5 separate regions of the Homo sapiens genome follow, and all the other regions are linked to region 1. The links are contacts of gene promoters, found by promoter capture Hi-C in blood cells and fetal thymus (Javierre and others, 2016). All regions are on one chromosome and are shown on one strand. The core of a region is centred on a gene start or on the middle of the fragment in contact, and the rest is flanking DNA. Distances in the headings are between cores, read along the strand shown. Region 1 holds the start of PSMA4 (proteasome 20S subunit alpha 4). Region 2 overlaps TBC1D2B (TBC1 domain family member 2B). Region 3 overlaps CIB2 (calcium and integrin binding family member 2). Region 4 holds the start of IDH3A (isocitrate dehydrogenase (NAD(+)) 3 catalytic subunit alpha). Region 5 overlaps DNAJA4 (DnaJ heat shock protein family (Hsp40) member A4).

Region 1 (2,834 bases), core at 233-2,732:
TTTCTGAACTTTATATAGTTCCTGTAAAAAGAAAATCAGATCATCATTAAAATAAGATTCACAAATTAAAAAGCATTTGCTGACTTTACAAATCTGTTTTATTTACTCCCTTTATTCAGCTAAGTGTCAGGCATTATGCTAGATGCTGGAATACCAAAATGTGTAAAACCAGTTCCTGTCCTGAAAAGCTAATACTGGCAGTTAGGTGAGAGAGGCAGTCATAGATTATAATGTGGAAAGAGGAACCGGGGGTAGGGTGGGAAAAGGGATGATGAAAGAATCAAGAAAGTATTTTTTGAGAAATCGATACAGAAAATGAAAGTAAATCAGAGATGGGAGAGGCAGAAATAAGGCTGAGAACCCTTGGGTCTAAGAGAAAGAACAGGGGAAGAAAGAAGGGCATTCCACACAGAGCAGAAAGTATGAACAAAGGGTACGGAGGCAGGATAGTTTAGTGGGCATGAGATAAACTGCTGATGCTTTTAAAATATATATAAATAAGAGCTAAGCGAGTATCCAAATCACGCAGAGCCTTGAAAGCCAAGGCAAGAGGCTGAGGCCTTCTCCAGAGAGTGATCTGGGTCCTGAACTTGGGGGTGGAGGCAGTTATCTTGGGCACCATCAGTACCATTCGTGCAAAAGGCAATACTAGGTGTTCAGCGTTATTTGGTAAAGCCTCAGTCCAAGGCCCACATTTCCAAATACTGGAATATAGGGAATCAAGACTGGAAAGGTAAGCTGGAATCAAATCCTGGAGAGCCCGCGTGCCCAGGTAAAAACAGAATTTTATCTCTCAGCCAATGGGGCTCCTCTGAATGATTCCCAAGGCCCACAGGAACTGATTGGCATTTTAAATGATCACTCTGGCTGGTGAGAGACCGAGGGCAGCGAACTGGTTGAGGTAATTGCAATAGGAATGGTGCAAAGTAAGGATGGCACAGAGCAGAGAAGCAGGGAGGACACAGAGACACTCGCCGGGGATTTCTGATTCGAGCTTTAAGCACAACTTTCTGTTGTCTCCACGCCTGACGCCGGGCACAGCACTATTTTGAGTTCACCGGCACCTCCGGGAGAGCTAACTTTCACGTACCGAACTCCTGAGGACGGAAGCCACCCCAACTCTCGGTCCTGCCCACAGACCCCCACCCTCAGCCCGCCCCCTCGCGGGCCCCGGCGTCCAGGCTTGGCACTGGGAAGCCCCCGACGGCGGCCGGCGGGGGCCATTCCCGGCGGTCGGTCCGTCACAGAGGAGGCGGTGCAGAGTCATCGTGCCCACGGCTCCTCGGCGGCAACTGCAGGCCGGGACCGACTGTCTTGACGTTCACGACCCCCGCCCAATGGGAAAGCGGCCAAGCTTCCGCGGGCCCCAAGGGGCCAAAGGCTCACCAGATGGAAGACCCTGAAGACCTGAGATGTCCACGGAGCCCTTAACTCCACGGAAGAATAAACCACCACCGCTCACCGAATAACCGCTGCTAATATGGCCCCCGCGCATGCGCAGAACCGCTGGGTTGGGGCGGGGGGAGCGGGACGGCCGAGGACGCGGAAGTCCTTCTTGCGGGGCGGAGCTAGAACCCGTGCCCCTCGTGGGAGCTGGGTCGCGGGGGTGCTGAGGCTCTGGGGCGCTGCAGCTTAGGCTAGGGTCCTCAGCAGGTGGAGGAGTTGCTGTGCCATGGGGAAGAGGGCAGGAAGACAGTAGCCAACCAGGAGGTGGAATAGCTAATTTCTTTCTCTTACCCTTGGCGCTCTCCTTTCATTTTCTCTTCACTATTCAGACCTAGGATAGCAAATAGTGTGGACCGGCTTCTTAATTGCTATCATTCCTGTCCTGTTTCCCAAAATGGTTCCAACCACATGAGACTTTACCCCTCTCATCACCTTCCTTTTTCATTCTGGCTTTCACTTTTACTGCTGATGCATACATTTTGGACATACACATTATGATGAGGAAGGCCGGGTGGCTCATGCCTGTAATCCCAGCACCTTGGGAGGTCGAGGCGGGTGGATCACCTGAGGTCGGGAGTTCGAGACCAGCTTGGCCAACATGGTGAAACCGTCTCTACTAAAATTAACAAAAATTAGCCGGGTGTGTGGTGCACGCCTGTAATCCCAGCTACTTGGGAGGCTGAGGCACGAGAATCGCTTGAACTCGGGAGGCGGAGGTTGCAGTGAGCCGAGAGTGCGCCACTTCACTCCAGCCTGAGACTCCATCTCAAAAAAAAAAAAATTATGATGAGGGTCGAGCATGGTGACTCATGCTTGTAATTACACCGCTTTGGGAGGCTGAGGCAGGAGGATGGCTTGAGGCTAGGAGTTTGGAGGCTGCAGTGAGCTATGATCGCACCACTGCACTCCAGCCTGGGTGACAGAGAAAGACACTGGCTCTAAAAATTAAATTAAAAAAAATTATGATCAGGTTCACACTTTTGGGGGAATTTTCACCTTGGTCTCTTTCTCTGCTTTTCACCAGTCAGAAAGGATTTCCCTGACCAGCACAGTTAAAGCAATACCCTACCGTCAGCATATACTCGCACCATTTTATCTTCTTTACTGAAATTGTCATACTTGTTTCTGTGTTCATTATCCATCTCTCCACCTTTTTGCTCATTCAGCCTCGGTCCGTATGTAAACTATCTACTATGCATTTTAGGTTTTTTCAGGCTAGAAGGTTGACTAGATCTGGGTTAATATGAAGTCATCTGCTCACAGTCTCTCCCAAAAAGCAGCCCACTGGGCAGAAACTCCTCTTCATGTTGGTTGCAAAATTATTGGGGGATCTGGGCTTTGAAAAGGAGATAGCTTGGAAGTAAGTTACATTTTGAGGTCTCGCCTAT
Region 2 (2,834 bases), core at 170-2,669, 480 kb after region 1:
CAGCTTGGTCTCATATTGGGATTGGTGCCATATTTGACCTGGGATTTCAGCAGTATTGAGGAAGTAGCAACAATTGAACATGAGAGGATGAGTCAGATATTTGAGTGTTTATATTCAGGACACTGTGCAAGACATCTTGGATCGTATTGAGACCAGCAGGTCTGGTCTCTGCCTTTAAGGAACTTGGGTTAGTGAGGAACACACAGGGAGTGCCCTCACCTCCATGGGAGGGTTACCTGGGCTACAAGATTCTCTGAGCTCCCTATTCAGAGAATGGAGACAAAATGTACACCCAGATCAGGGAAACCTGCTCTGAAGAGGTGGCCTTTGCATTGGATCTTGAAGGGTGAGTAGGAAGGAGCTGAGGAGACTGGTGTTAGGGGAGACAAAATGCACACCCAGGTCAGGGAAACCTGCTCTGAAGAGGTGGCCTTTGCATTGGACCTTGAAGGGTGAGGAGGAAGGAGCTGGAGAGACGGGTGTTAGGGGAGACTCAGGAGCTGGCCTAGGTAAGGCATCAGACAGCACACACCAGCACCTGGCTTCTTGCTGGGTGCTTGCCTGGCATCGGCTCCCAATTCTCTGCTGATCTGTGGAGCTCTGCCTTGTCACTGTTTCTTCTAGCATGAGTGGAATGCCTGTCTGGCTCTCCAGAACTTGGGACCACAGCATTTTGGTCATTCTGAGGGGTGGGGGGCAGATGGTGATCCTTCCCGGTCCTCACTCCTCCGGCGGGCGTGTCTTTGGTGAATGCTGTGTGGTCCTGGCCGTTAGCTTCTGCGCTGACTGGCTCATTGTCACCAGCTGAGCTGAGGCTCAGCGGAGGGAACTCCTGGTGATAGACCTAGCAAGGCGTTGTCTGTGCAGCCAGATCACTCAAAGGTCCTACTCGCCCCACTTTTGGAGCACTGAATAAAGGCACTATAGCTGGGGCCAGACCAGCAGATGCCTGGGTTCCTAAAGAATGTTGGCCTCTCCTTGGACATTAATGGACCATGGGGTGGTTGGAGATATGGAGGCGCCTGTTTAAAGAGAGAAGTTATCTTGAGTTGTAAAGTGCTGTAGAAGGGCAATGGTGTTGGCTGCCCCACACCCCCGTGGACCCCATGCCCTTGGCTTATGTTATAATCCTGAGGTACTGTTTCCTGCCAAGCCAGATCTCCCACCAACCTTGGCTCTCAAAATGGAATATATTTGCCATTGTAGTGTAGACCAGCACTGTTCAGTAAAGATAAGATGTGAGCCACATAATATACTTTTAAATTTTCAATGAGCCACATTAAACCAGTAAAATTAATTTTAATACTATCGTATTTATTCAGTGTATCCAAAAGATTTTATGTGGCACTGGCCATCTCTCATGTGCTCAGTAGTCACGTCTGGCTAGGGCTACTGTGTTGGTACAGGGCAGATCTGAACCAATTTCCTGGGACTGGGGCGATAAAGAGGCTGGTTTGTGATTATACATTTAATTAGGCCTGAGCCGAATCTCCATTTAGTCCTTTGCTAAAAGATACCAGATAAAAAACGCAGAGGCTTTTTGGATTTCTGCTGATTTTGCTGTGTTGTACTTTTAGTGGTGCTCAGTCTTAGAACCTGTGTGTGTTTCTGTCTTTGGGTTTCAGCTGTCTTCAGAAAAGGCCCTTTGGGGCTTTTCTGTCAAAGCACATGCCCCAGAGCCATTTCAGACAGTCTGGCCCCCAGCCTTTTACTAGCTAATTGGGGATTGAAGTCAAAAGTCTTCTAGTGATCTCTAGATTTTTTTTTTTCTTTGAGACAGAGTCTCACTGTCGCCCAGGCTGGAGTGCAGTGGCACCGTGTCGGCTCACTGCAACCTCCGTTTCCTGGGTTCAAGCAGTTCTCCTGCCTCAGCCTCCCAAGTAGCTGGGATTACGGGCACCCACCACCACGCCTGGCTAATTTTTAAAAATACTTTTAGTAGAGACGGGGTTTCACCATGTTGGCTAGGCTGGTCTCGAACTCCTGACCTCAGGTGATCCGCCTGCCTCGGCCTCCCAAAGTGCTGAGATTACAGGTGTGAGCCGCCATAGCAGCCTGTTTAGGTTTTTTTTTTGAAAGGAAACAAACCCAGTTAATCAGTGTCTTGATTAACTGACTTGTTAACCAGATTTTGCCCATCTTATTGACCAAATTTCTACAATATGATAAAATATCAGTCATTGAAAGCATGTGATCTAAAAGTTTTGCCTCAGGAATTTAGTGAGAGATGACTCAGAGGTTACTGATTGTTTCCCAGTTACATTTAATACTCAAAGATTTAAAGTGAAAAGGATTTCTTGTAAAAAGCAGATTTTTCATGGTGCCTGCATTGTCAGAGGCAGCTGGAGAGGTTGGTTCAGATATGCCCTAGTGAGTATGTGCCAGCTTCTCTAGCAGCCTGTGGCTCCCGAGCATAAATAGAAACACAGCTGCATATGCAGGCTGAACAAGAGGAAGTGTCTGGGCACCTCCCTGGCTGGAGCAGAAGGCTCCCAGGGTGCTTAGCTCACCTGTGGCATGGGGATGGAGGGGCCAGGTAGTCAGGGAGCTGGTGGGAGGACCACACACGCACATTCCCCCACCCAAACACACACTTGCCTCTAAGGGTTGGGGGTTTGGCAGACTGGGCTCACAGTATTGACTCCCTGTATGACCTAGACAAGTCACTTCCCTTTCTGGGCCTCTGTCCCCTCATCTGCAAAAAAAAAAAAAAAAAAAAAAAAAAAAAAAGAGGAGGACTGGGTGGGCTTTGGGCTCTGAATTTGGCTCTGGTTGTGTCTCTCAGTTCCTGACTTGCCTAGTGACTCTTCTCTCCCTTCCTGTGGAAATGCTTG
Region 3 (2,834 bases), core at 203-2,702, 420 kb after region 1:
TGCTACAGCCCCCCACCATGCACTAAGCTCCTTAGGCCTAGCCCAGGATGGATAAAGGTTTTGGGAGGCATTTTCTATACCTACTAGAGCCAGCTGTCCCCAGTGGGTGAGGGCAAGGTGGAAAGGGATAGTAGTGACTCTTCTGTCCCCAGTCCGGAGCTATCCCCTGTGAGCCCTGTGGCATCGAGGCCTCTGAGGAAGAAAGTCTGGGAGCCGCACACTGACTGTGTGTTGTGTGTTTTCCCTCAACAGGACTGCACCTTCTTCAATAAGAAGGACATCCTCAAGTAAGTGTGGCTTCTCGTTCACCCTGTTGGGACTGGGACTGGGGCCGGGGTGAGGCTGGGGCACCCCACATGGGCTGGCTGTGCTCCTGGGGCTGAGGCAGAGCATCAGCATGTATCAGGAGCCACATTCAGGTCCCCACTCGGCCACTGGGCTAGGATGGAGTTAGAGCTTCCCACTCCTCCCAGGGCCCAGATCCTCCTGCTGGGGAATGAACATCTACTTACTATGAGCTTTCAGGTGGGTAGTTTCCGGCACATTCTTATTTAATCCTCATTGTGACCTTGTAACAAGAGAATCCATTTATCCCCATTTGACAGATGGAGCTTAGCAACTTGGCTAAAGTCACAGAGCCAGGGACTCAAGACCCAGCCTCTGACTCCAGGTCCCTTGCTATTTCACTGCATCCTGGGTCCTGGTATAGCAGGGAGTCCCTGTCTGTTAGACCAGGGGTCCCTAAGGGCCCTTTGGCTCTAGCTTTGATGTTCTTCCACTCCTAGGACGTCTAAAAGTTGAGGGCATGGCCACCACCCCTGAGCTATTCATCAGGGCTCTGCTTCTTCCCAGGACAGCCCTTCTCCTTGGTGTTGATGGGGGTGGGGGTGGACCTGGATGGGAAAGATAAAGGGGATCGGCAGCCTCAGAACCCCAGGACCAGTGGGTGAGCAGGAATCACTGAATACCAAGAAAACTGCCCCACGGGCCTCACTAGGCCCCTCTGCCTGGGTGGCACTAAAAGCCAGCAAAGTCCCAGGATCACTTGCCCTGGAGATCGATGGTCAGGCTGGGACCAGAGCCCATTGCAGCTTCCCAAGAGAGCTGTGCTGCAGCTTGTCACTGCCCTAACCATTCTGCTCATTCAGGCAGTGCCTCTCGGCTTTCCTCTCTACCCAGGCTGCTATTCCAACCTGTCACCTGCATGGGCAGGGGATACCCCACTTCCACCACCTTAGAGAGTCTGAGCAAGGGGCAAAGCCTCCAGGCCTGGCATCAGTAGACCTGGCATCTGTGGCCTTGGGCAACCATTTGACCTTCCCTGAGCCTCAGTTTTCTTCTGTATAATAGGGATAGTGAAACCTACCCTCATAGCATTGCCGAGAGGCAGCAACACTGGGGTATAGTGTTTGATAAGTGGGATTTGCCCTGTAGCTTGAGAGATGTCAGGGGTGAGGTCCCCATTTCGACAGGATGGCTCTCGGTATTGGAATAACAAAGCTGTCACCCCTGGCATTCTTGTGGCACCTTTTACCTTTCAGAGTTCTTGGCATGGAGCCTCATTTGAGCCTCACAGGGAGCTTCGGGTTCCCTACCTTTGTAGATGCCAAGCCCAAGCTGCCTGTCTTCTGAGGCCCACGGCCATTTTCATTCTGGCAACAAAAGCCCCTTGCCTCGGCCTTTGCACTGGCTATCTCCACTCCCTGGAGTGTCCTTCGCCTCTCCTCTGCCCACAGCATTGCTATGCATCCTTCCAGACCCAACTCCAGAATCATCTCCTTTATAAGCACCCCCAACACCCTGCCACCCTAGTGCTATCCCAGCTGCTCTAACAGCCTGTTAGGGGCTCCTTGGGTTCCTGGACCCAGGGGCCCAGCTCCCCACCAGACTTGTGATCAGGCAGGACTAACAGGGAGCATGGCACCTGTTAGCCACCAGTGACCATATGAAGAGTGTGTGGGTGAAAGACAGGTAGGATTGGCTGAGGGAGAACATTCCAGGCTGGGGAGCAGCAGAGGTGAGACACAGGCCAGCTTCTCCTGCTCCCACTCCCACCCCCATCCTCCCGTGGTCTCATTGACAGCAGCAAGATTGCCTGTGTGGGGAAGAGGAGAGAGGAGCTTGAAGGCCAGTCCGGGAATCCGATCCAATATGATGGGCCTTTGGTGGTTGTTTTAGTCCATTCTCATGCTGCTATAAAGAACTGCCTGAGACTGGGTAATTTATAAAGGAAAGAGGTTTAATTGATTCATGGCTCCACATGGCTGGGGAGGCCTCAGGAAACTTACAATCATGGCAGAAGGGGAGGCAAACACATCCTTCCTCACATGGCGGCAGGAAAGAGAAGTGCTGGGCAAAGGGGGAGAAGCCCCTTATAAAACCATCAGATCTCGTGAGAACTCACTATCATGAGAACAGCCTCGGGGTAACTGCCCCCATGATTCAATTACCTCCCACCAGGTCCCTCCCATGACACGTAGGGATTATGGGAACTACAATTCAAGATGAGATTTGGGTAGGGACACAGCCAAACCATATCAGGGGTATCCCTGGCCCCTTGGAAAATGAGGGGCTCCAGGCAGGTGAGAGGGCTTGAGGAGAGGCGTCCTGGCTCCCCACAGCCCTGGCCTGCACCCCTCTGCACGCATCAGGACCCTAGGCTCTGTAATTCAACACCAGAGCAAAACCCAAGCCTGAGGCCCCGTCTGCAGCATGGGGATGACATTGCTTGCAGGAGCTGTTTTCTCACAGGCCCCTGTGTCTGGGAGGGCTGGGTGATGGTGTTATTAAACATGAAAAGAGCTACCTGGAGTTTGCTGCCCACCTGTCCACCC
Region 4 (2,834 bases), core at 236-2,735, 390 kb after region 1:
GCGCGAAGCCTGGGCTCTGGCCTGGGCGGATGCGGGTGACGGCAGCCGGGTCTCGGCAGGAGCAGGGCCGGCGCCCCCCCGCCTTGACCTTGACGCCGTCCCCGCCTCTGCGCTGCTGACCCGGCCCGGGGCGGCCCATACACTGCGAGCCGGCCACGGAGCGCGGGGCACGGGCGACCAGGACCGGCTCCCAAGCTGTCCCCGCGGGCAGCCACCGCCTCCCTGTCTGGCCCACGCGCCCGCCCACACCCGGCACGCGACCGGCTCTCCTGCCAGCCCTCGCGGCCTGCCTGCCTGCCACACGCCGGCCTGCCAGCGCTCACCTTAGAGATCCACGCGGGCCCAGCCATCGCTTCCCCTCCTGGCTCCGCAGCAACAGCCGCAGCGGCAGTGCGCAAGCGCCCACCCCACGCTCGGAGCCCGCCCCTGCACGGCCACGCCCCCTGAACGCCCCGCCCCCTAGACCGCCTCAGGATTGCTTCGCGCTCGCTCGCTGCCCCGCCCCTGGACATTCCGCTGGCGAATCGCCGGGCTCGTCTCTCTGTGACTGGCCTGGCTGAGCGCCAGGCGAACCCGGAAACTGAGGGGCCGGCATCTCCGGGAAAGCTTCTTCCTCCCCTCCCTGGTTCATTGACTCGCTGTTAAGGTAAGACGTTTGTTCCACACCTACTAGGTGCTGATTAATGTTCTAGGATCTTGGGGATATAGCGCTCCTCATAGAATTTACAATCCCGTGGAGAAAGACACATAATTTTCTTATTCCACAAATTTTGATTTTTTTTTTTTTTTTGAGACCGGGTCTCACTCTGTCGCCCAGGCTGGAGTGCAGTAGCGCGAACAGGTTCACTACAAAGCCTCGACCTCCTGGGATCAAGTAATTACTAAGCCCAGCCCAACTTTGTTTTTTCTTTTCTTTTTCTTTTTTTTTTTTTTTTTTTTTCTCCGTAGAGATGGGGCCTCGCTATGTTGCTCAGGCTGGTCTGGAACTCCAGAGTTCAAGCGATCTGCTTGCCCCAGGCTCACAAAGTGAGCCACTGCGACTGGCCGAATTTTATTTTTTACCAGCTTTATTGAGGTATAATGTATATATAGTAACATTTACTCACTGTAAGTGTACAGTTTGATGATTTTTAGTAAATGTAAACAGTTGCACAACCATCACCACAATCCAGTTTTTGAGCATATGAAAATGTTCCTTGTGTCCGTTTATAGTCAATCCCGCTCCTGTCCTCAATCCCAGGCAACTACTAATCTGTCTATTTAGCTCAACAAATATTTCTGAGGGTCAACTAGACACCAGGCACTGTTTTAAGTGCTGGGGCTTAGTGTCCAGTAGGAAAGACAGGCTTCAATCAAGTGTCACACACATGTCATTAAAACTGTTGCGCCAAGAAGCAAAAGAGCAAGGAGCTATGGCAAGGCAAAATCAGGCAACCTGATTCAAACCTAACCTGGAGGTCAGGGAATGCTTCTCTGAAGAAATAACATCCATACTCACCTTTCCCCTTGTCCTCTCCCTGTCCATCACAAACTCCTGAGTTCCTGCTGATGGCCAGGCCTCTAGCTGGGTGCCAGGGGAGGTCAGGTGTTTAAACCAGGTCTCTGCTACCCTACCCTGGGAAGAGTTCTATCCAGAGAGGAGCTGCCTACCCACCCAGAGAGGTGATGAGTGCAGTAGAGAAGTGATCCCAAGAGCTTTTATGACCTAAATAATAAACTGCAGCTAAGTCTGTGGCCTTGTCAGGAAGGAGGGCTTTTATCAACCCCTTTCCATTGGGCCCCTTCCCCTCATCAGGCCCTGGCAGTCCCATCCTGAAGTGTTCTCCCACAGTTCCTCCATCCCCAATGTCACCCCTGCCCTCCTTCGGGCCAGACCACCTCAGGCCCAGGCTCTTACAACAGCCTCTTCACCTGCCAACCTGCCCTCCCCTTCAGGCACAGCTCTGACCAGGGCTCGCCCCGGCTCTGAAACCTCCTGGCTCTCCCTTGCACTCTCCTCTCACACCACTGTCTTTTTTCAGCCTGATTTCCCACCACTCCTTCCAGCCCCAAAGACCTGGAGCGCCTGCCAACTAGGACTGCTGGCCAGCCCCCAAATGCTTCCCATATTTTACCTCTCCGTGCCTATGGTCGTGCCATTCCCTCAGCCTCAATGCCCTCTTGCCCCACTTCTACTGGCTGAAATTCTAGCTCCTTGTCAAGACTCAGCTTACATGTTGGGAAGTAGTAAAAGTTGTAAAAGCCCCCAAGACCCACGAATGTGTCCCCCTCTCCTTACTCAGAGCCCTCTAGCACTTGGCTCCCACCTCTCCTGGGAAACATCACATTCTCTTCTGCTGTGTGCCATTGAGAAGATAAGCTTTGGGCCAGGCGTGGTGACTCACGCCTGTAATCCCAACACTTTGGGTGGCCGACGCAGGTGGATCACTTGAAGTCAGGAGTTGGAGACCAGCCTGGCCAACATGGCAAAACCCTGTCTCTACTAAAAATACAAAAATTAGTTGGGCGTGTTGGCACATGCCTATAATCCCAGTGACTCAGGAGACTGAGGCATCAGAATCGCTTGAACCCACGAGGCAGAGGTTGCAGTGAGCCGAGATCATGCCACTGCACTCCAGTCTGGGTGACAGAGCGAGACTCTGTCTCAAAAGAGATAGAGAGAAGATATGCCTTAAGTCCAGAGATAATCTTGATGATCTCTTATGACGTTGTTTCTGGAACAGAGACTGGTACACAAGGAATACTTGCTGCTCAGTGATTGTGAAATAAACATTGACTGACTTTGTCCAGTCTTCATTTAATCTTCACAACAACCCTATGAGAAAACTGAAGTA
Region 5 (2,834 bases), core at 228-2,727, 270 kb after region 1:
TGAGGCATTAATTCCCTTGTTCTACAGATCCCTGATTGAAATCTAATAAGTAACCAATAATAATAGCTAATAAATAGCTAAAAAACTACAATTTAGAAAAGTCTTAAAAAGACATCAGCATCATATATAAGGCAGCTAGATCTTTTGATATGTTAATTCTCATACCATTTCTGCGAAGAAGTAAGTACCATTCACTACTATCCCTTTCCTCAGCAGAAAACATGAGGTAGAGTGTAAGGATTGGGTGCCTGGTACAGATCAGAAAGCAACTAGGCCAGGCTGCCCCTAGACAGTTTCTGCGTCTATCTGCAGGTCAGGACTAGGTAAATAACTTCATGGGAACGTCCACCGGAAACACTCACCAAATACCCTGGATACTCACATGTCATTTAGACTTAATAGAATGATCTAAGAATGGAAAAGGAGTACCCAGTTGCTTGGGACATTCAGTCAGAGGCCAGATCTCACATGGGATGGGGGTTCCAACTACCAGTAGGGAGTCCATCCTCTAGGGTCCCAGCACTCCAAAGTCTAATTCAGCTCCCGGCCCGGACCCCCTTCTCCCAGTGGGAGACGAGTGCTATGATGAGCTTGCCTTTCAGACCATGATCATTTGCCACAGAACCTTAACAGGATTACTATACAGCTGAGGGGAAAATGGCTTTGAAGACTACGTAACAACTTGGGAAAAGTACTTATAATAAAATATTAAGTGGAAACAAGAAAACAAAATGTCTATGTATCAGGATGGCCATGTATGATCATACTGGGGAAAGCTTGGAAAGAAGCACAGAGTGGTTAGGATAATGTGTACTTGGTAGGTTTCCCTCTGTGTTCTAAAATTTTCTGCATGGTTTGCTATGTTCTGATTTTTGAACTTGAAAGTCTATTATTCAAACTAAAAGTTACAATGAAATTGACCAAAAGACCAAACTCATCTCAACAGGGTAATAGCCAAGAATATACCCCACATCATTGCCCCTAAAAGGGACTATCTTGGTGACCCACTACCTACCACCCATGCATCTTGCAAAAAAAACAAAAAACAAAAAAAAAACACCCGCAGAGAAGTACAGACTCCATACAGAGTGCCCAAAAAACACAAGGTGCCCCAATGCTTAGCAACAGGGGACAACAGGGCAAAAAACAAAGACCAACATTTCAACGGCCTTCTCAGTTTTCCCAGCAAGGGGTAAAGAACTGGTGTAGTCTATTTTTGAAGAGACGTTAATAATACAGTGACGAACTTAGGAGGAAAAAAAAATTTAAAGGTTCTACCTGTGATAAAGTGGAAAAGAACTACACACACATACACACTCACATACACACTCACACACACACTCACACACTCACACACTCACATACACACTCACACACACACTCACATACACACTCACAAAAGGCCTGCACAGTGCACCCAGCACACAGTGGGGACCAGAAGAGGAGGTATTTGTTGAATGAATGAATGAATGAATGAATGAGCTCTCTCTGGGGAACTCTACAGCCGTTTCTATAAATTGTGTCCCCAGTCTCCTCATCCTCTTTGATTTCCGATCTAAATTGCCACTCTCCTCCCAATATCCCTTTCACTGCAATTTCCCTTCCAATTTGTGCCTTTATAGGGCCCTCTCCTCCTACACACAATTTTTTAAAGTGCATTTACTCAGCCAGCTAACAAACATTTTAGCACCTACCCTGCACAGCTAGATACTCACCCCATAAGTGGCCATGGGGGCACAGTCACTGCCCTGCTTACATTATGGCAGGTAATACAGTTATCAAACAAGTAATCACCATTAAAGGAATACAGTTAATCAAACAAGTAATCACCATTAAAGTAGGATGCACGTTGGGCCTGTGGTTCAGTCTATGAGGCAGAGGCAGCCTCCTGGAAGATGTTTTAGCTGAGAACTAAAGAGTTTTATCCCCTTCCATGAAGGTAGAGGAAGGAAAGTATTCCTGGCAATGGGCACATCACAGAACCCTTCCCTCCAAGCTGATGGGCCTGCCAGACCTCACTGCCAAGGGCCTCATTTATGTGACACTAACTCAGTGCCTGGCTATGAATAAATATTAGTTTAAAACAAACCAAACAACCTGCCCAGACAGGTATAGACAGGGTGAAACCTACACATATGTAGTACAGGTCAAGTCTAATTTTTTAAAAATAAAAGCTTCAGAACAAAAGCATATTCAGCTCTAACTGTATACACAGAGGCATGAACTTACTCTTGTGAGTGCTGAGATTTGACCTGAATCCAGGGTCAGGCTTTCCCACATGTCTTTAGCCAGCTTGCTGAAATGTGAAATTAGAAGCCTACAAGCTCTCCTTAAAGGAGACTGTCAGAAGCGGACCACAATGAATGTAGGGAGCAGGTGGATGAATCACCAGCACCATGTAAAACGCCAGTGCCTTTAAAAGCTACAGTAAGCCATCTAAATATAGATGAGAAAGAACGCAAGTGAGTAACAGACAAATGGTCTTACAGGAAAGCATTTTAAACTTGTGACAGCCACATTCAGCACATGTGGCTAAATATAAATATTCCATCACTGTTGCCATTCAGCCAACCGTCCTGAAGTAGCTTTCTCCAGCTTGGAACAACTAACACAGACAGGTATTTTGATTCCAGCGTCGTTTCCACAGGTCTTAAATGCTACATGGGTGATTGGTGTGGTTTCAAACGTGGCCCAAGTGACACTGCTATCAGCTACTATAACGGCCCCACCTCTCAAGACCCATGCGGAACAACCAAAGTTTTGTAAGAAAATGGCAAGAAGTGAAAGGAGGAACGGGAGGGTTAGCAGCCTTTCCTTGCAATGCCTCATCCTTC

The links. The method cuts DNA at HindIII sites, captures the fragments that hold promoters and counts their contacts. A CHiCAGO score of 5 or more calls a contact.
Region 2: a contact is called between a fragment that was not itself captured here and the fragment with the promoter of PSMA4 in region 1, in 1 of 17 cell types (activated CD4 T cells). The highest score is 5.1, in activated CD4 T cells.
Region 3: a fragment that was not itself captured here is called in contact with the fragment with the promoter of PSMA4 in region 1 in 1 of 17 cell types (fetal thymus); the score reaches 5.9 in fetal thymus.
Region 4: a fragment that was not itself captured here is called in contact with the fragment with the promoter of PSMA4 in region 1 in 9 of 17 cell types (fetal thymus, activated CD4 T cells, non-activated CD4 T cells and 6 more); the score reaches 13.5 in fetal thymus.
Region 5: a fragment that was not itself captured here is called in contact with the fragment with the promoter of PSMA4 in region 1 in 1 of 17 cell types (fetal thymus); the score reaches 5.2 in fetal thymus.

Annotation. Positions count from the first base shown.
Region 1 is chr15:78,539,092-78,541,925 of GRCh38, reverse strand. It overlaps PSMA4 (proteasome 20S subunit alpha 4), which reads right to left and starts at 1,482. Exons shown (of 9, transcript NM_002789.6): 1 at 1,387-1,482; 2 at 1-21. RefSeq lists enhancers at 334-1,226, 1,335-1,444 and a silencer at 985-1,254. The HindIII fragment of the contact is 17,328 bases long and covers 1,357-2,834 here.
Region 2 is chr15:78,056,583-78,059,416 of GRCh38, reverse strand. The region is part of intron 1 of TBC1D2B (TBC1 domain family member 2B); the gene reads left to right. Among named protein-coding and RNA genes, the nearest start is that of TBC1D2B, 20 kb to the left of the region's middle. RefSeq lists an enhancer at 2,413-2,532. The HindIII fragment of the contact is 3,960 bases long and covers 1-2,834 here.
Region 3 is chr15:78,121,158-78,123,991 of GRCh38, reverse strand. It overlaps CIB2 (calcium and integrin binding family member 2), which reads left to right. Exons shown (of 6, transcript NM_006383.4): 2 at 253-287. Among named protein-coding and RNA genes, the nearest start is that of CIB2, 8.9 kb to the left of the region's middle. The HindIII fragment of the contact is 8,738 bases long and covers 1-2,834 here.
Region 4 is chr15:78,146,920-78,149,753 of GRCh38, reverse strand. It overlaps IDH3A (isocitrate dehydrogenase (NAD(+)) 3 catalytic subunit alpha), which reads right to left and starts at 392. Exons shown (of 11, transcript NM_005530.3): 1 at 324-392. The coding sequence starts at 350. LOC124903534 (a long non-coding RNA gene) reads left to right here and starts at 535. Exons shown (of 2, transcript XR_007064725.1): 1 at 535-646; 2 at 2,022-2,834. RefSeq lists a silencer at 1-432. The HindIII fragment of the contact is 1,753 bases long and covers 609-2,361 here.
Region 5 is chr15:78,265,689-78,268,522 of GRCh38, reverse strand. All of the region lies in intron 1 of DNAJA4 (DnaJ heat shock protein family (Hsp40) member A4), which reads right to left. Among named protein-coding and RNA genes, the nearest start is that of DNAJA4, 2.5 kb to the right of the region's middle. The HindIII fragment of the contact is 1,398 bases long and covers 779-2,176 here.